Linked DNA regions of Homo sapiens: all the other regions are linked to region 3. Evidence: promoter capture Hi-C in 16 types of primary human blood cells and fetal thymus (Javierre and others, 2016). All regions are on one chromosome and are shown on one strand. The core of a region is centred on a gene start or on the middle of the fragment in contact, and the rest is flanking DNA. Distances in the headings are between cores, read along the strand shown. Region 1 overlaps RPRD2 (regulation of nuclear pre-mRNA domain containing 2). Region 2 overlaps MRPS21 (mitochondrial ribosomal protein S21). Region 3 holds the start of MTMR11 (myotubularin related protein 11). Region 4 has its middle 26 kb from the start of ANP32E.

Region 1 (2,700 bases), core at 84-2,583, 440 kb after region 3:
TTTGCTCCCACTAAATTTTTGTTTTACAAAATATAGTTATTTTTAATTAAGAAATAATTTATTGGCTAGACAGGGTGGCTCACTGAGTGCCTGTAATCCCAGCAACTTGAGAGGCCAAGGCGGGTGGATCACATGAGGTCAGGAGTTCGAGACCAGCCTGGCCAAAATGAAGAAACCCCATCTTTACTAAAAATACAAAACTTAGCCAGGCATGGTGGTGCGCGCCTGTAATCCCAACCACTTGGGAGGCTGAGGCAGGATAATCCCTTGGACCCGGAGGTGGAAGTTGCAGTGAGCCGAGATGGTGCCACTGCACATCAGCCTGGGCAACAGAGTGAGACTTCATTAAAAAAAAAAAAAAAAAAAAGGCCCAGCTGAATTGGCTCATGCCTGTAATCCCAGTACTTTGGGAGGCCCGAGCAGACAGATCACAAGGTGAGGAGTTCAAGACCAGCCTGGCCAACATGGCGAAACCCTGTGTCTACTAAAAAAAAACAAAAATTAGACCGTCATGGTGGCGTGCGCCTGTAATCCCAGCTACTCAGGAGGCTGAGGCAGGAGAATTGCTTGAACCTGGGAGGCGGAGGTTGCAGTGAGCCCAGATCACGCCGTTGCACTCCAGCCTGGGCGACAGAGCGAGACTCCATCTCAAAAAAAAAACAAAAAGAAAGAAAAGAAATAATTTATTGATTGTAATGGATTTATTGTTTTTAATGGGTTAATGGATGTTTTTAAATTCTTAGGTTTAATTTCTGTTTATTTTATTTTTATTTACGTATTTTTTTTTGAGACCGAGTTTTGCTTTTGTTACCTAGGCTAGAGTGCAATGGCGCCATCTCGGCTCACTGCAGCCTCCGCCTCCCAGGTTCAAGCGATTCACCTGCCTCAGCCTCCTGAGTAGCTGGGATTACAGGCATGTGCCACCATGCCCGGCTAATTTTGTATTTTTAGTAGAGACGGGGTTTCTCCATGTTGGTCAGGCTGGTCTCGAACTCCCAACCTCAGGTGATCTGCCCGCCTCGGCCTCCCTAAGCACTGGGATTACAGGTGTGAGCCACTACGCCTGGCAAATTTTTGTATTTTTAGTAGAGATGGGATTTCACCATGTGTGGCCAGGATGGCCTCGATCTCTTGACCTTGTGATCTGCCCGCCTTGGCCTCCCTAAGTACTGGGATTACAGGCGTGAGCCAACGCACCCGGCCAGGTTTAATTTCATATAGTAAATAGCCATAGCTATAACCCACAAAAACATAACTCTTTGAGGTCCTCAGTAATTTTTACCAATATAAAGGGTTTCTGAAACCAAAATATAGAATGACCTTTGTCAATTTTCTGCAATGTAGATATCCATTGTCTCTCATCTTAACATCGCATATTGCCCGATCGTCTCTAGGCTTTATTTTATCAACCAGTTAATTTTTATTTTTAATTTGTGAGATCATAAGTTTGTTAGCTTTTTATTTTGCCAAAAATGGACATAAAAATATACTACATTTATAGCATCACTACCCACCATTTTATAAACTATCACTTTATTAAAAAGGTTATACTTTAATTCCAAAAGTGTTAGAAGGACATTTTCTCAGAATAAAGGATAAACCTTCAAACTACATAAATTTAGCTATTTGAAAAATTTGCTTTGATGTCCTTGTCTTTCAGATCTCAGCTCAGGTGTCATCTCCTTGGAGGTTGACCTTATGGTGGTTGTCTGAGAGCCCACCTCTTTCCCTCGCCCATCATTCTCTTATCATATTACCCTATTTTTTTTTGTTTTTTTTCCTCCTGGGTTCAAGCGATTCTCCTGTCTCATGGCAAGCAGTTCTCCTGTCTCAGCCTCTGAAGTAGCTGGGATTATAGGCATACACCACCATGCCCAGCTAATTTTTGTATTTTTCTAGTAGAGATGAGGTTTTGCTATTAGCCAGGCTGGCCTTGAACTTCTGACCTCAGGTGATCCACCTGCCTCAGCCTCCCAAAGTGCTGGGATTAAGGCGTGAGCCACCACACCCGGCTCCTATTTTATTTTATTTTTATTTTTTTGGGACGGAGTCTCTCTCTGTCGCCAGGCTGGAGTGCAATGGCGTGCTGTCGGCTCACTGCAACCTCTGCCTCCTGGGTTCAAGCGATTCTCCTGCCTCAGCCTCCCGAGTAGCTGGGATTACAGGTGCTCGCTACCACGTCCAGCTAACTTTTTTGTATTTTTAGTAGAGACGGGGTTTCACCATGTTGGCCAGGATGGTCTCTATCTCTTGACCTTGTGATCTGCCCGGCTTGGCCTCCCAAAGTGCTGGGATTACAGGCGTGAAGCACGCCTGGCCTTTATTTTCTTTATGGCTTTTCTCATTATAAGATACTGCCTTGTTTATTTATTTGCTTATTTATTGAGACACATGGCCCCCCTCACCCCCAAAAAGAATGTAAACTGCTAACAACAGATTATTTGTTTTGTTCACCACTGCATCCTCAGCACCTAGAAGAAGGCATGGAACATAGAAAGTGCTGTAATTGTCAGGGTGTGCTGGCTTATGCCTGTAATCCCAGCGCTATGGTAGGCCAAGGTGGAAAGATTGCTTGAGTCCAGGAGTTGGAGACCAGCCTGGGCAACATAGTGAGACCCCCATCTCTACAAAAAAAAAAAAATAGGTAGACATGGTGGCGCGTACCTGCAGTCCTAGCTACTCAGGAGCCTGAGGTGGGAG
Region 2 (2,700 bases), core at 149-2,648, 370 kb after region 3:
TTTGGGAGGCTGAGGGGGGCGGATCACGAGGTCAGGAGATCGAGACCATCCTGGCTAACACAGTGAAACCCCGTCTCTACTAAAAATACAAAAAATTAGCTGGGCGCCGTGGCGGGCGCCTATAGTCCCAGCTACTCGGGAGGCTGAGGCAGGAGAATGACGTGAACCCGGGAGGCGGAGCTTGCAGTGAGCCAAGATGGCGCCATTGCACTCCAACCTGGGGGACGAGAGCGAGACTTCGTCTCAAAAGAAAAAAAATTAGCCGGACATGGTGGCAGGTGCCTGTAATCCCAGCTACTCAGGAGGCTGAGGCAGGAGAATCGCTTGAACCCAGGAGGCGGAGGTTCCAGTGAGCCGAGATCGCGCCATTCATTGCACTCCAGCCTGGGGGACGAGAGCGAGACTTCGTCTCAAAAAAGGAAAAGAAATTCAAGTCCCATAGACTCAGAGTCCCATAAATTGTATTATAGCTTCGCGGGGCAGGGGGGAAATGAACAAATATTTCAGTCTTAGAATAATTTTCTTTTTCCTTTCTTTTTTTTTTAATACGGAGTCTCTCTCTGTTGCCCAGACTGCGTGGTCTCGCCTCACTGCAACCTCTGTCTCCCGGGTTCAAGTGATTCTCCTGCCTCAGCCTCCCGAGTAGCTGGGATTACAGGCACCTGCCACCACGTCCGGCTAATTTTTTGTAGTAGAGACGGGGTTTCACGATGTTGGCCAGGCTGGTCTCAAACTCCTGACCTCATGATTGGCCCGCCCGGCCTCCCAAAGCGCTGGGATTACAGGGGTGAGCCACCGTGCCCGGCCTCTTAGAATAATTTTCTAGGTAAGGACTTTCAAGCTTGCATACGTGAGCAGACTGATTTTGGAGTGATCCAATCTTCTGTTTTCCTGCTGCCTGTTAAACACATTTTCTGACTGATGCACTTTTCTGTTTCTTCTTTTTCTCTGCTTTTCCCAAATGTCCTCTCTCTAGCCACTTTTTCTGTATATCTTTCTCACACTCCAGGCCTCTCCTGATCTCTTTCAGCTTTCTCATAGCTGGTAGTTTAAAAATAATTTGCTTGTTCTGTGGTCTAATTACAACAATAGGTAGGAGAGCAAATGAGTCTAGAGGGAGGTGATTAAAGCTTTACCATGTTTGGAGTACAGAGAGAGTCTTACAAAGGAAATAGCCTACGTGTCTGTCCAGTGAGGCCACCACAAAATGCCTGTTATATAACTGGGGGCCCTCATTGGTGCCCCGGGATGAGAAGGTGGAGAGTGGGGGTTGCTAGGAAGCCCTGCATGATTGGCTGGCCCCCAAGCAAAGAAAGGTGAGTACACTGGAAGCATGCCCTGTTGACTCCTTTTACTCCTAGTGGGCTACCTTCTGGGTCCATTGAGTCCTTCTGCATACACGTCTGTCCTGACGTAGACTGGCTACACTGACATGTGAGTCTGCCACCCGCACCTCCCCCCGCTCCAGGCAGCTTGGCTCCTTTTACATAATCATTTGAATTTCACTAAAACTGGCAGCTGGTTTCTCCTTCAGTATTAGGTTGCCAGGCGCCCGAACTCCAGGCTGATCTGTTTACTCTAAAGCTCTTGATGTACTAGTCCTTGAACTACTTTTGGAAGCAGAAGGAAGCATCATTAGTAACACCCCCTCTATTCTTGTGTTTTACAAAGCTTTTCTTGCATCCTTTTCTGTTAGAGGTAAAGTTGAGTAGATACCTCTACTATAGGGACTCTGGGGCATTTGAAGATAATCTGTGCCTTTTTTAGTATGACTAGAACGTGTCGGGTAAGGGAGGGAATCCTCACCTGGCATCTTGGAATTTATTTGGTCTGTGTTTTGGAAGTAAGTAGTACATCCAGGGAATGCCATTTACCAACCCCCATCATTATATTCTTTCTTTTCCCTTCACCATTCTTATGTTCTTTTGTTATTCTTTTTCCTTGTCTTGCCCTTTTGCCTGACAGTACAGGCATTTCCTTGGTAAGATGATCACCTTTGTTTTAGAAGCCTTTTGGAACTCCAGTAGGGTTCCTTGAGTCATACTCAACCCCTTCCTCCTCTTGCAGTGTTGTTTCATCCTACTTTTAAACTGTCTTTGTCATTCCAATAGGTTCGTCTTCCTAGGTCATATTTACTCAGGGTCTCTGTCGTTTTTATATTCTCTCAAATCCAGTCTCCTTGTACTTTTTACATTATATATCCAATCTTTTTCTTTCAGGGGCTTTTTTCTATATTTTCTCCAATATACTACTTTCTAGTCCAAAAAGCAACCTTCATTAGACAGTATTAAACACAAAGTCTCAGCAGAAATAAATGTTTACATGTTTAGATCATTCTTTTATCCAAGTGTCCCTTATCGGCTTCCATTTCCTCTTTACTCTGATTGAAGAGTCTAGCCCAGCTCTTCACTCCCTCTTTTACCCATGGATACTGCAACAGTTTGTCTTCTGAAATGGGTGGTTTTTGTTTGAGAAGCAGAATACTGTTGTAGAGCACTTTACTAAAGACCTGAATTCTGTTTATAGTTCCATTTTGTGATCTTGGGCGGGTCAGCCTCTCTGAACTTCAGTTTCCTCATCTATAAAAAGAGGACATTATTTGCCTAAACAATTTCATAGGAGTGTAGTTAGGATGATGGATATAAAAATGCTATCTAAACTCTAATATGCCATCGTAGTAAAGGTAATACTATTGAGGCT
Region 3 (2,700 bases), core at 37-2,536:
CTGCCATCCACAGGGCTGGAAGGTGACCCTAAAGTTGGTACAGATCAGGGTTCCAGACAATTCTGGTTCCAGGCCCTTCCTCACCCCTGGGGCCCATGCTAGGATCTGCTCCCCTAAAGGGGAAGAAGGGAAGCCCTGTTATGACTGTTCCCAGTGTTGCCCACACTTGGATACACCCACCCCTCCAAGAAAGGGAGATCTAAATAGGGAAGATTAAAATCCTCCCCAAAGCCCACTACAATGTAAGCTTATGAGGAAAGATAAATGTTTTTTAATTTCTGTAACTAGAACAGAGCCTAGAACAAGGCCTGGCACATAGCAGGCACTAACTATGTATCGAATAAGTAAATTTGAAAAGGGGTAACAGGGTCAAGGAAACAGAAGGAATGTCAAGGTCCAGCTCTCAGCCAGCTCTAGAGGCTGTCAGGGAGGACAGCGAGCCTCAGGCAGACGTACTTCGAGCCACGAGAGGAACACAGGGGTATCTTTGGTGAGGGCATGAAACAAGATTGGCGTAGGATGAAATTTGGAAGTCTTTGGAGAGTGATAGGGCATTATTACCTGGGAGGCATCTGGAGGCCAGGCAACTGCTAGGCTGACGACTCCTGGGCTCCGGCATCCTATTTTCCTGGACAGACTTTGGTCCAGAGGGTTGAGGGGGGTCTAGAGTTAACCCCTAGGCTCCCCAACTCCCCAGAGGCAGCTGCCTGTAGAGGCCTACACTCACACTCTCGGGGGAAACTGAGATCAGTGTCTGTGGGGAGCTCCAGACCTAACAGGGCTGGTAAACAGTAAAGGGAGGGGCTGGTTAATGGATAATGAGACAACGAACTTGAGACTGAGAAAGACGGACCAGGCTCCATCAGCAGAAGCTGATAGACAGACACACCCTCCTCCTCCTCCTCTAGAGCCTTTGCTTCCCCCTTTTATCTCCACCTCATCCCCGTTCTCACCCTCTTGCCGACACCCCCCAAATTCCTTCTCCTTACCCCCATCTCTGGCTCCTCCTTCTGGGGGGCAATGTTGAAACTCTGGCCCCGGCCCCCCCACCACATTTCTCTGGCTCCATCCGGGGACACAGCAGTTAAGGGTGGGAAACCTCAAGGATGCTCACCCACCTCGGGGAGAGGCTGAGTCTTGTTGAGAAGAGGGGTGTTAGGGAGAGGGGTAGGGGGTTGGACACAAGGGAAAGGAGCATTTGACGTGCACGGAGCAGAGTTTGGGGGTCCTTGGAAAGGTGTGTCCAGCCCAGCCTGAGAAGTCTCCTCGGAAACTTCAGTCGACTCTGGAGAGGGCGGGAGAGATGCCCAACCCCTTAAAGGAGAATACACACAATTCTGGAAAAGTGGAGAGGAAACGGTGGAGTCTGAGACGGACGGGTGGGGAAGAAATGGGGACTGAGAGAAAAACGACTCCCTTCTTTACCCCAATCCCAGACCCTGTTCTCTTCCTGTTCATGAGTACTGGAGACCGTTTGAGGGGAGCAGTTCTATTGATTATGAAGCTGGAATCATCTGGGCTACCTGTCTGGAGTGTCTCAGTGATGACTTCCCTTAAAAGCTCCGTTCTTTTGTCTTCTCAAAGGGGTTTGGGGCGGGGAGAGGGGTAGGAATGTGAAAGTGGTTCAAGCCTCCTTGCCGCCTCTTCCAGAAGAAAATGAAAATTAGACCTGGGGGGATTTTTGTCAGCAGAGGCCCAAGAATTAGGTGAGGAAGCAGGGAAACTGGTTAAAGTGGTTTTGCATATCTTTCTCTAGAGGGCATGACACAGACATCATGTGAAGACTGCAGTGGAGAAGTATAAAAAGAGATGGAAATGTGTCCAAGATGCAGACACAAGTACAGTTTGTGTGCAAGTCTTGGGGATGTGGGTGGGACAAAAAGATCTTACCAGTTAATCTTGCCCATCACGTAGATACACAACCAATAGGCAATAAGTGCCCATTCCCGTATGTGACTCCACCCCTCCAACCCAGACACCAGATCTCCAAATGAATGATTCATGTTCAGGACTTTCACAGGTGAGGGCTGGAAACCTCTCTTCAGCTCAGCAGTCCATCCCCCGTCCCTCCCATCTGCAACCCTAGAAGCAAAGATGGGTAAGGAAAGCTGGGAACAAGGAGAGAAGGAGCTGCAGCTCCTTTAAAGGAGGGGGACTTGGGGACAGCAAAGCAAAAATCTTTATTTAGACATGAAAAAGACAGAAAATAAAATACAAAATAAGAGTTAATGAGCTGCTGTTTTATTGCTTTTGAATCTACAGAGGCAGCAATCCTTAGATGGGGGCCCCAGTTTTCCAAAGTGACACTCAATTTTCCCCTCCCCCCAGTACACCACCCTTCTGGCCTCAGCTTTCAGTTTCCTGTCTTGGCTGCAACTGTGGAAATAGTGAAGATATTGTGAGACAGAAAGTCAGTCTGGAACAAAGAGGTATACACCTGCTAAGAAGGTGGCCCAGAAGCCTGATTCTAGAAGTCCTAAAGGCTACAGAGCACCACCACCCCACCTGCCCCTAATGCATTCCATGGGCCTCAACCTCTTGGGGGAAGAAAATATTTCCCAAGGTCTGTTGTAAAAAGAAAATAGGGACCAGGCGCAGTGGCTCACGCCTGTAATCCCAAGCATTTTGGAAGGCCAAGGCAGGCAGATTACTTGAGGTCAGGAGTTCAGGACCACCTGGCCAACATGATGAAGCCCCATC
Region 4 (2,700 bases), core at 164-2,663, 270 kb after region 3:
ACTTGGCCTCTCAGTTACCTTTCCTAGAAGGGATACACGAGACCTTCACCTAGCAACATGACTACTGCACTTGAAATGTGGCTAATCCAGGCACTTTGGGAGGCCAAGGAGGGAGGATCACTTGAGCCCAGGAGTTTGAGACCAGCCTGGGCAACATGGTGAGATCCTATCTTTATAAAAAGAAAAAAAAGAAGAAGAAAGTAACTAAATAAAAATAAAACTCTGTTAAAAAAAAAAAGAAAGAAAGAAAAGTGGCTATCTGAATTGAGATTTGCTGTAAGCATAAAATCCATCCCAGATTTGGAAGACTTTGCATGAAAAAAATACAAAACATCTTACTAATGATTTTTTACATTGATTACATGTAGAAAGTATAATATTTTGAATATGTTGGGTTAATTAAAATACATTAAAATTAATTTTACCTGTTTCTTTTTAGTTTTTTAAATATGTCTACTAGAAAATTCTAAATACATCTGTGACTTGCATTTTTATTTTATTTATTTATTTATTTCTTGAGACAGAGTCTCATTCTGTCACCCAGGCTGGAGTAGAGTGGCTCGATCTTGGCTTACTGCAGCCTCTGCCTCCCAGGCACAAACAATTCTCCTACCTCAGCCTCCCGAGTAACTGGGATTACAGACACCCACCACCATGCCTGGCTAATTTTTGTGTTTTTAGTAGAGACAGGGTTTCACCATGTTGGCCAGGCTGGTCTCCAACTCCTGACCTCAGGTGATCCACCCGCCTTGGCCTCCCAAAGTGCTGGGATTATAGGTGAGAGCCACCGCACTCCACCAACTTGCATTTTTGACAGAATTATATGTCTATTAAAGAGCGCCAATTTAGAACACTGAACAATAATACCATAAACAATGTAAATATACATTCTCCCTGTAAATTAATAAATTGACAACTTGATTTAGAAATCTGACTTTGGTGAATTTTCACGGCACAAGTCTGTCCCTCACATATTGATCGATTTTGTATTTACAAACTCAAATACATCTCCTTCTATAGCCCTGCAAAATGAAGGATCACGCCTTCACTGAAGTGAGCAAATCAAAGTTTTGGCATCTTCTGAGCTTTCTGGGCACAAGCTGTCAGCTCAGCCATTTCTCTGCCTGCAATTTCGCTCTTGGTTTATAATCTTGGGTTTAGGCTGTTTTTCAAGGGATAGAGTTGGTATCATTCATATTTGTTTTCCTATCACTTATGTTCCTTAAACAAAGGATTTTAAAAGTTTGTTAAATATTCTACATTTTATGCCTTTGATCATAGCTGTAAGACTGCTTGCCTTGAAAAGGATTTGCACATAATTCTCCATGGTTTTTTTCTTAATATGTTAATTGCAAACCGCTTGTAAAGATTGAGTACATGAAGATCTGAAAGACAGCAGTTATTTACAGTCATGTAAAGTAAAAATGGCAAGTGATATCTAATTAATAGCTAATAACCTAATAATATGGAGTGGAAACTTGATAACCATTACAGCACACTGTATTTTATTATCAAGGACAGAGCCTTAGAGACAGACCACAGAATTGATGTTTCATCATTATGCGATGGCCTACATTATATGACCTCTTATTTGTCCCTCAACTCCAATAGCAACCTCAAGGCTGATATAGAATAGCAGTGGAAAGGAAAATAAATGACACAAAAAGAAAAGTAGGTTTATCATGGGACCAATGTAGTGCTTTGGCCTCATAGCAGAGACCAGATGGTAGCAGCTCCTCTCTCAGCAGGTAGCTCTTCAATATCCTACGGGTTGTAAACAACAAATTCACATCATCTCCACCTGCTAATAAGTATTTTTTAAAATATTGCGGCAACATCGAAACAATGCTGAAAATACAATCCCTCAATATAAGAAAAAAAGTTTTCCTAAATATTTAGTCTGTTAAAAGAAAAAGTCTTTTCTGAGAAATGCTATTACCCACTAGAAAATCTTGGCTTCTTAAAATCCAAGAATATTCTCATCTCTTTTTTTTTTTTTTTTCTTTTTTTGAGACAGAGTCTCACTCTGTTGCCCAGGCCAGAGTGCAGTGGCGCGATCTTGGCTCACTGCAAGCTCCACCTCCCAGGTTCAAGCGATTCTCCTGCCTCAGCCTCCTGAGTAGCTGGGATTACAGGCACGTGCCACCATGCCCGGCTAATTTTTGTATTTTTTAGTAGAGACGAGGTTTCACCATATTGGCCAGGCTGCTCTCCAACTCCTGACCTTGTGATCCACCTGCCTCGGCGTCCCAAAGTGTTGGGATTACAGGCGTGAGCCACAGCGCTCGGCCTCTTTTTTTTAAATAAAGTAAATGGCCCTCATTTTACCCAATTTTGTGACTTTGTAAAAGCCAATGAAAATGCCTGAGAAACTACTGACATTAGTTTTACTGCAGTTAAATATTTGTTAACTTTGCCAGGCGCGGTGTCCCGTGCCTGTAGTCCCAGCTACTTGGGAGGCTGAGGCAGGAGACGGCTTGAGCCCAGGAGTTCTGGGCTGTAGTGTGCTATACCGATCGCGTGTCCGCACTAAGTTCGGCACCAATATGGTGACCTCCCAGGAACAGGGGACCACGAGGTTGCCTAAGGGGAGGGGTAAACTGGCCAAGGTCAGAAATAGAGCAGGTCAAAACTCCCGTGCGGATCAGTAGCAGGATCGTGCTTGTGAATAGCCACTGCACTCCACCCTGGGTAACAGAC

Evidence for each region. Contacts are between HindIII fragments. The CHiCAGO score rates a contact against its expected background, and 5 or more counts as called.
Region 1: a fragment that was not itself captured here is called in contact with the fragment with the promoter of MTMR11 in region 3 in 1 of 17 cell types (neutrophils); the score reaches 5.2 in neutrophils.
Region 2: a contact is called between a fragment that was not itself captured here and the fragment with the promoter of MTMR11 in region 3, in 1 of 17 cell types (erythroblasts). The highest score is 6.1, in erythroblasts.
Region 4: a contact is called between a fragment that was not itself captured here and the fragment with the promoter of MTMR11 in region 3, in 13 of 17 cell types (megakaryocytes, neutrophils, erythroblasts and 10 more). The highest score is 10.2, in megakaryocytes.

Annotation. Positions count from the first base shown.
Region 1 is chr1:150,378,633-150,381,332 of GRCh38, forward strand. The region is part of intron 1 of RPRD2 (regulation of nuclear pre-mRNA domain containing 2); the gene reads left to right. Among named protein-coding and RNA genes, the nearest start is that of RPRD2, 16 kb to the left of the region's middle. The HindIII fragment of the contact is 3,943 bases long and covers 1-2,700 here.
Region 2 is chr1:150,301,091-150,303,790 of GRCh38, forward strand. The region is part of intron 2 of MRPS21 (mitochondrial ribosomal protein S21); the gene reads left to right. Among named protein-coding and RNA genes, the nearest start is that of MRPS21, 8.6 kb to the left of the region's middle. The HindIII fragment of the contact is 541 bases long and covers 1,129-1,669 here.
Region 3 is chr1:149,935,593-149,938,292 of GRCh38, forward strand. It overlaps MTMR11 (myotubularin related protein 11), which reads right to left and starts at 1,287. Exons shown (of 17, transcript NM_001145862.2): 1 at 990-1,287; 2 at 562-637; 3 at 1-113. The coding sequence starts at 1,055. OTUD7B (OTU deubiquitinase 7B) reads right to left here. Exons shown (of 12, transcript NM_020205.4): 12 at 2,220-2,700. RefSeq lists an enhancer at 553-1,077. The HindIII fragment of the contact is 11,640 bases long and covers 246-2,700 here.
Region 4 is chr1:150,209,217-150,211,916 of GRCh38, forward strand. It overlaps the pseudogene RN7SL480P. Among named protein-coding and RNA genes, the nearest start is that of ANP32E, 26 kb to the right of the region's middle. The HindIII fragment of the contact is 5,688 bases long and covers 1-2,700 here.